2 separate regions of the Homo sapiens genome follow, and region 1 is linked to region 2. Evidence: promoter capture Hi-C in human tissues and cell types (Jung and others, 2019). All regions are on one chromosome and are shown on one strand. Each heading gives the region's core, a stretch centred on a gene start or on the middle of the fragment in contact. The rest is flanking DNA. Distances are from core to core; before and after follow the strand shown.

Region 1 (5,141 bases), core at 2,412-4,911, 140 kb before region 2:
CATTTGGATGTTTCATATGCAGAAGATATGTCAGTTGTATTCATAGCCTAGGAAATAGAGTCCTGTCTAACACTCCATAGTTTGTATTTTTTAAACTTAAAACTCTATTTACAAGGACAATCTTCTGTGTCGTATATTTTGTAGGTTAATATATGCCCAGAAACAACTCCCACAAAGCCCAGACTCCTCAAGTGCATGCCAGGGAATAACCTTTGTATGAAATCGAATGATAATATGTTGCAAGAGTTAGATCAATTTGCAAAAGAGTCCGTTAAATGATGATGACAGCACAATGTGAAAAGCTGGCAATAAGGCACTTCCAATAATAGATATGAGGACATCACCAGTGTACATCAGTTTCAAAAGTTCTTACTTTTTTCAGTAATCTGATTTCAATTTCTAATTAATGAAGATTGGGGAAGTTACCTTTTAACTATTTCTAACTTTGTTGACTTAAGATCAAAGAATGTGGACTGTAAAGTGTTTACTTTTTATAATTTGATAAGGTTTACTTTGTTCCCAAGTACAAAATTGATTTTTGTAATTGGGACATGAACACACAAACAAAACGTTATCTTCTGTTTAAAAAGTAAGTTTAATGATTACATTATTCAGTTTTTTCCATATTTGCTTCTTGTACTAAATTTGTCCAATTCTGAAACTGTGTTTTGAAGGTTGCCACTGTCATAGAACTATGGTCTAGTTCTTTTTTTATTTCTAGTAGATCTCAGTTCAAATATTTAGTTCCATGTTTTTGGTAAATAGAGATTTGTGGCTGTTACATCTTCTTCATAAATTATGCCTTTTATAATTGTCTACTACCTCTCTGTGTCCTGTTTAGTGCATTTATCTATAAATACTGCAGCTGTTGTAATCTCAATACTATCAAATACATAAGGAAAAGTATGCTAAGTGTATAGCCTGATGGGTTATCACAACATGAGTGTGGCCATGCCGAAGGGCTTTCAGAGTAGAAACATCACCCGCCCTCGGAAAAACATCACTGGCTGTCACCAACTCCTCCCCTAGTCCTAGGGGAGTTTATCCTACCTTTTAATACCACAGAATAGTCCTGGCCACTTTTAGACTTTATGTAACATTCGCTGAATCACACAGTATGCATTCTTTGTGTCTTAATTCTTTTACTTAGCTTCATGTTTGTGTGATTCACTCATGTTTGTGAACTTAACTTCATGTTTGTGTTATTTGTAGAAGTAGTTCATTCTTTTTCACTGCTATATATTATTCCACTCTGTGAGTATAGCATGATGCATCAATTATACCCCAAACAATACTGTTTTTTCTACTTTTTCACTATGCAAATAATGCTGTCATGAAATTTCAGTGCCTGCCTTTTAATGCACCTGCGTTGCTTACCTCTGTTGTTTATATATCTAAAAGTGAAATTGCTGTAACGTAAGGTAAGCACAAGTCATAAGTCAAGCTTCTATGCATGTGTGAGTCTGCACTTTGTGTGGCTCCATTGGTTTATTTGTCCCTCCTTGCACCAATCCCACACTGTCTTATTTAGAACATTTTAAAAATTACTCTTGATATCTGATAGTGTAACTCTTCCAACTTTGTTCCTCTCCTAGGGGATATTCTTGGCCCTTTGCATTTCTACCTACATTTTAAAGTCATCTTGTCCATTTCTACCAAAAACTACTGAAATGTCTGGAATCGCACTCAATCTATAGATCAATTTGTGGAGAACGGATATGTTGCAACAATGACTGCTCTAATTCATAAACATGGTATCAGTTATTTCTGTGCAAGGAAACTCCCAGAACTCTCTCCTAATCCAGACTAGGCTGGGATGAGTGGCCTGTTGCAGGTGGGGTGGGTGGAGTGGTCCTGCCTTCCTGAAGGTCTTGTGTGGCTCTGCTTCACATCTCTCATGCTTTTTGGAACAGTTGAGGAGCTGACACATGTGTCCTCATGACCGTGGCAGGAGCACCTTCTCAGACACCTCCTTGCATTGGTTGCTCACTGTTTTAATCATGCACTGTTGGGTCTGACATGAATTTGGAGAAATATGTGACCTACCAAAGGCCTCGAAAGGCATATCTGGGGTCTCTGCATTCTCTTCATTTGTTGCAGACAAGTTGTTCAAAGCTAAGATTCAGGATGTGATGGTGCTCATGGCAATTTCCCTGCTGCACTAATTTTGGAATTTTCTTTTTTGTTCCATTGTTATTCTTGGCTAGTTTCAAAAGAGGAGAGTATAATAAAAATGACACGCATCTACTATCATTAAACAGAAGTCTCCATACTACTTTCCGTTCTTTTATTTTTCAAAATCATCATATGTAAAATAGACTTCTTTTCCTTTGGTGTACAGATCTATGAAATATAATGCTATTATATGTATTATATATATTATATTTATAATATAGAGTATATTTATTATATTTATTGTAGTATATATTATATTTTATGTAACTCCCACCATAAACGGGTACAAAACAATTCCCTCAATGCAATTATTTATCAGTTCTAGTAGTTTTGATGTAGTCTTTATGGTTTTCTGTACGTAATATCATGTCATCTGCAAACAGGAACCGTATTATTTCCTCCTTTCCAATCTGGATGCCTTTTATTTCTTGCTCTTGCCTAATTACTCTAGCTAAGACTGACAGTAGTACTACGTTGAATGGAAGTGGTGAGAGTGGGCATCCTTGTCTTGTTCTTGATCTTAGATGGTTTGACGCTTGTCTATAGTGATATGCTTTGACTATTTTCTTCTTATCTTTTGTGTATCTACTACAGATTTTTGCTTTGTGGTTACTTGAGGCTTGCAGAAAACATCTTATGTTTATAACCAGCTATTTTTAAGCTGATAAAAGCTTAATTTTGATTGCATAAATAAACTCTACATTTCTACTCCCCCACCTCATATTTTATGCTTTTGATGTCACAATTTATATCATTTCATCATTTGTATCTCTCAACAGATTATTGTAGCTATGGTTGTTTTTAATTGCTTTATCTTTTAACCTTTGTACTAGAGATAGAATTGTTTTACAGAAGACCATTGCCTGATTACTAGTTTGAATCTGACAATGTACTTACTTTTACCAGTAAGTTTTTTATTTTTGTATTTTTATCCTATCAATTAGTATCCTTTTAATCCAGCTTGAAGAATTCCTAGAATTTCTTGTAAGGCACATCTAATGGTGATATCCTTCCTCGACTTTTGTTTGTTTGAGAAAGTCTTATTCTTGCCTTCATTTTTGAAAGATAGTATTACTAGGTATGGTATTCTTGGGCAGTAATTTTTTTTTCTTTTAGGATTTTGAATATATCATCCAGCTCCTTCCTGGCCTATAAAGTTTCTGGAAAAAGAAAATCCATGGATATCTTACACGGTGGGCATCCCTTTTGTGTAACTATTTGCTGTCCCTTGTTGCTTTCAAAATTCTCTCTTTGTCTAAATTTTTAACAATTTGATTATAATATGTCTCAAATGTGTGTCTCTGGATTTTTCCTATTTGGTGTCATCTGAGTTTCCTGAATCTTGATTTCAATTTATTTCCCTAAGCTTGGGAGGTTTTTCCCCATCATTTCTTTGAATATGTTTTGTGTCCCTTTCTCCCTCTCTTCCTCCTGGTCTACCAATTCTGAATATATTGTTCTGCTTGTTGAAGTCCTGTAAGCTATCTTTTTCATTCTTTTTACTTCTAGGATTGGATTATTTCCAATGACATGTCTTTAATCTCACTGGTTCTCTCTTTCACTTAATCTGGTCTGCTGTTGAACACCTCTACTGAATTTTTCAGTTCAGTTATTATATTCTTCAGTTTTATAATTTCTATTGGCCGCTTTTGAAATACTTTCTATCTCTTTTTTGAAATTATTTGTTTATGCATTTTTCTCCTGACCTTAGTGAACATCTTTATGACCATTATTTTGAATTCCTCATTGGGTAGATCATACATCTCCACTTCACTAGGGTTGGTTTCTGCAGATTTATCTTGATCTTTTATTTGGAACCCATTTCCCTGTTTTTCTATTTCCTTTGTTTCTCTGTATTAGTGTCCGTGCATTACATAAGACAGCAGCCTCTCCCAGTTCTGTCAGACTGTGAGACTCCCAGTTCTGTCAGTGTAGGAGAAGGCCCTCACCAATTGGTCCAGAGATTCTGAGGTGCCTCTTAAATCCTGGTTTGTCCAAACCACTGTCTCTGATTTTAGTGCCCCCCGACTGCCCACCGTAGAATTTTACAATGTGCCAAGTCCTGTCAGTGCCTTGAGATAGGTAAGATAGAAACTAGATGCAGTTGGAAAGATTGGAGTGTTAAATATATGTTCCAGTTTCTTCTTTGCTCAGGGTGAAGCTAAGAGCAAGAGTTTATCTCCCACTCTCTATGCACTATGTCAGAAGAAGGATCTGTGACAAGTGTCTGCATTTTCATGCAGAATGCACCCTCTGATAGTCACTAGAAGTTGGATTGTTGAATGTACACTTCTTTATTTTCTGTCGTCCACGGAGACTCAGAAATGCAGAGACCCACCAATTCCCAAAGTTAGGTGGTTAAGGAGGCACTCCTCCGGGTGGGAGCTGTAGAAGTTGTGGCACTTGGTGCACAAACTACTTCTAAAAGGAATCTACAGAGCTGGTTTTATCACTGGGGTGAGGTGGAGGGAAAGGCTTGGGAAGTGCCTGAACTCTCATTCAGAATCCTGGAGGTCTATCGTTTGTCGGCCCTGTTGGCTCCCAGATGCAGGCTAGATAGGAGCCTGATCCTTAAGCAGTAACTGGAAAATTGTGCAGACTAACCCCTTCCAGGGAGAAACTGGAAGGCGTGTATTTAACCTCTTGTCTGCATTGGTCCTTGCGGGTGTAACTCCTATAAGTGCTTGCATGCCCATTTTTTTTCTTTCTTTTTTTTTTTTTTTTTTTTTTTGAGACGGAGTCTCACTCTGCCGCCTAGGCTGGAGTGCAGTGGTGCAATCTCGGCTCACTGCAACCTCCGCCTCCTGGGTTCAAATGATTCTCTTGCCTCAGCCTCCCGAGTAGCTGGGATTACAGGCATCCGCCACCACACCCGGCTAATTTTTGTATATTTAGTAGAGACAGGGTTTCACCATGTTGGCAAAGCTGTTCTCGAATTCCTGACCTCAGGTGATCCACCTACCTTG
Region 2 (3,542 bases), core at 1-2,500:
CATTTACACAGGGCGTACACCAAGTAACCAATGGAAACCTCTAGAGGGTATTTAACCCCCCCAAAAAATCTGTAACGGGGCTCTTGAGCCGCTATGCTCAGCCGCTCCCACAGTGTGGAGTTATTTTCGTTGTCTTTTCTTGTTTCTTTTTTGAGACGAAGTCTGGCTCTATCGCCCAGGCTGGAGGGCAGTGGTGCGATCTCGGCTCACTGCAACCTCCGCCTCCCGGATTCAAGCAATTCTCCTGCGTCAGCCTCCCGAGTAGCTAAGACCACAGGCGTGCACCACCACGCCCGGCTAATTTTTGTGTTTTTAGTAGAGAGGGGGGTTTCACCATGTTGCCCAGGCTGGTCTCAAACTCCTGACGTCAGGTGATCTGCCCGCCTTGGCCTCCCAAAGTGCTGGGATTACAGGCCTGAGCCACCGCGCCCGGCCACACTTTTGTTTTCCATAAATCTCGCTTTTGTTGCTTCCTTCTTTCCGTGCTTTGTTTGTGCGTTTTGTCCAGTTCTTTGTTCAAGACGTCAAGAACCTGGACACCCTCCACCGGTCACAATAGCAGTTTCGCTTTCCATTCCATTTTATCCAGGGTGGTTTTATCTCCACCCTGGCGTTTGCAGAATCCGGGCAAGTACACAAATGGATGCTCCACAATACTTGTCTAGATATTTAAAAGGTATAAATAAAATAACTTAAATGAATGAAATTTTTATTATTTAAATCTGTTGAAGTCTTGTGTGCATGAAAATAAAACTCCTCCTAATGTGGCGTTCAGTGCCCACGCCGCTGCCACCGTGCCTGGCCCTGCGCCTGGGCGCGCTGTGTCCGCTGCTACAGACGCCGGCGGGCAGGCGGGCAGGCGGGCAGGCGGGCAGGCGGGCAGGCGGGCAGGCGGGCAGGCGGGCGGGGGGAGGCGGCGCAGAGCCCGGCAGGCGCCGCCGTTGCCTCCGCCTCCGCGCGGTCTCCCCGGGGCCAGCTGGGACCCCGAGGGCTGGGGCGGGGGCGGGGGCGCGGGCGACTGCGGCGGGGCCTGGAGGGCGCTGGTCCCAGCCCAGGGCGGGGTCCCGGGGACGCCCCTCGGCCTTAGATCCGCGAGCGGCAGCTCGGGCCTGGGGGCGGGGCCTGGCGGAGAGCGACCCGCTCACTCTGCCCGGGCTGATCTCGCGAGGGCCGCCTGGTCTCGCGGCGCTGGCCTGTGGGCGGAGCGAGCCCTGAAAGGCTATAGGCGAGGGGGCGGCTCCGCGGGGCCGGGCGAGGAGTCCAGAGAGCCATGGCCGCCCTGCGTGTCCTGCTGTCCTGCGTCCGCGGCCCGCTGAGGCCCCCGGTTCGCTGTCCCGCCTGGCGTCCCTTCGCCTCGGGTGAGTGCGCGGTGAGAGCTGGCGGCCCGAATCTCCTCCTGACTCCGACCTGCACGCCCAGACCAGATCCCAGACCGCACCCCCCTCCCACCTGACCCCGCATCCCCCACCTGACCCCAACCCACACCCCTCTTCCGCCTGACCCCGCACCCTCACCTGACCCCTACCCGCACCCCACTCCGCCTGACCCCGCACCCCCCCGCCTGACCCCGCACCCCCCCACCTGACCCCGCACCCTCCGGCCTGACCCCTACCCGCACCCCACTCCGCCTGACCCCGCACCCCCCCACCTGACCCCGCACCCCCCGGCCTGACCCCGCACCCCTCTTCCGTCCGATCCCGCATCCCCAGGGCCTGACTCCGCACTCTCCTGCCTGACCCCGCACCTACCACCTGACCCCGACCCGCAGCCCCTGCCTGGCTCAGGCCTGCAACACCCCCCTCGCCTAGTGCTGCACCCCCCACCTGACCCGCACCCACAGCCTGACCCAGGCTTAACACCCCCCCACCACCCGCCACCCCGCACCGACACCACCCACCTGACCCTGGCCCGCACCCCCACCCCCTGCCTGGCTCTGCAGGAGGCCACTCTCACCAGGCCACGTCCTGCGGGAGGCCCGGCGGCTGGCTGGTACTGCCCCAGTGCCAAGACCTCTGGCCAACTGGGCGCAGGGTGGGGGTTGTAAAAATCCGGGGTGTTCCCTCGGCTCTAAGAGCAGGCGTAGCTCCTGTGCAGCCGGCCAGCCCGAGAACAGGAGATGCAGGTGCATTTTGTCCTGGGTGCCTCCTGACCAGGGCCACCCCTCAGAGGGTCCTAAGGGAAAAGCTGACACCTCCTCCCCAGCCACAGGGGGCTGCCCTCTTCCTCCCTCGTGGCTCACCCGGGGCCCCACTCATGAGCGGCCATCACCGGCTCTAGTATCTGAGGAATCTTGGGCCATGCCTTGGGCTGGGGAAGAACTCTTGCTTCCTCTTCCTCCCTCACCCTGTGTAGCAGTGGACCACTGAGTTGTGTTGGTTTCATCTCCATGCTCTCCTTGGCCTTCGGCTTCTCCACCCTGACAGCAGCCCTTTCCTGGATCTTGCATGGCGGGCACTGCTGCCAGACACTTCACCTGTGATCTTCCAGTTACCCCTAGAAACCCACAGGATACGGCGGGGCACAGTGGCTAATGCCTATAATCCCAGCACTTTGGGAGGCTGAGGCAGGTGGATCACCTGAGGTCATCAAGACCACCTTGGCCAACATGGTGAAACCCCATGTCTACTAAAAATACAAAAATTAGCCAGGTGTGGTGGTGTGTGACCGTAGTCCCAGCTACTCGGGAGGCTGAGGCAGGAGAATCACCTGAACCCTGTAGGCAGAGGTCGCAGTGAGCCAAGATTGCGCCACTGCACTCCAGCCTGGGCAATAGAGTGAGACTCGGTCTCCAAAAAAAAGAAACCCATAGCACAGGGACTATGATCCCTGCTCTGCCACTAACGGAGGCAAGCATCCAACACACAGGCTACCTTTGTCTTTTCAGGTTCACCTTCTCACCCCTGGAACGCCATTGTCCTTTGTCTCCTTCCCACCTTGCTGTCCACCCAGCAGGCGCAGGTCCTGTGCAGCAGGCCAACCGAGAAGCGCCTGCGTCTCCCATTTTCGGGCTGGCCTGCTGCTCCGGACCTGTGCCTGATCTTAATGCTGCAGGAACACCCAGGATTTTCACATCCCCCACCCTGCGTCCAGTTGGCCAGAGGTCTTGGCACTGGGGCGGTACCAAGTGCAAGGAGCTGCCTTACACCCCCTCACCTGTTGGCATTTGTTGAAAGAAGGTGTTTCCTGGTGCCTTGTCTCAGCAGAGTCCAGGGCTGTCTCCAGAGTGGTGTCCTGGGAAGAGCTGACCAAGGCATATTAGGAGAAGGAAAGCGGCTGTGGGCTGTGTTCTGTGCTGGGGATTTTTCTTTTTTTCTTTTCTTTTTTTTTGAGACGGAGTCTCACTCTGTCACCCAGGCTGGAGTGCAGTGGCATGATCTCAGCTCACTGCAAGCTCCACCTCCTGGGTTCATGCCACTCTCCTGCCTCAGCCTCCCCAGTAGCTGGGACTACAGGCGCCCGCCACAACACCCGACTAATTTTTTGTATTTTAGGTAGAGACGGCGTTTCACCGTGTTAGCCAGGATGGTCTCGATCTCCTGACC

Evidence for each region. Contacts are between HindIII fragments. The study calls those that stand out against the background at their distance.
Region 1: a contact is called between a fragment that was not itself captured here and the fragment with the promoter of ECHS1 in region 2, in 2 of the 25 tissues and cell types used here (H1 embryonic stem cells and IMR-90 fibroblasts).

What each region holds. Positions count from the first base shown.
Region 1 is chr10:133,507,440-133,512,580 of GRCh38, reverse strand. LOC105378575 (a long non-coding RNA gene) reads left to right here. Exons shown (of 5, transcript XR_946512.3): 4 at 3,292-3,368. Among named protein-coding and RNA genes, the nearest start is that of CYP2E1, 17 kb to the left of the region's middle. The HindIII fragment of the contact is 3,032 bases long and covers 2,146-5,141 here.
Region 2 is chr10:133,371,062-133,374,603 of GRCh38, reverse strand. It overlaps ECHS1 (enoyl-CoA hydratase, short chain 1), which reads left to right and starts at 1,250. Exons shown (of 8, transcript NM_004092.4): 1 at 1,250-1,358. The coding sequence starts at 1,271. It overlaps MIR3944 (microRNA 3944), which reads left to right and starts at 2,941; the gene lies at 2,941-3,048. RefSeq lists an enhancer at 507-596 and a silencer at 978-1,487. The HindIII fragment of the contact is 22,751 bases long and covers 1-3,542 here.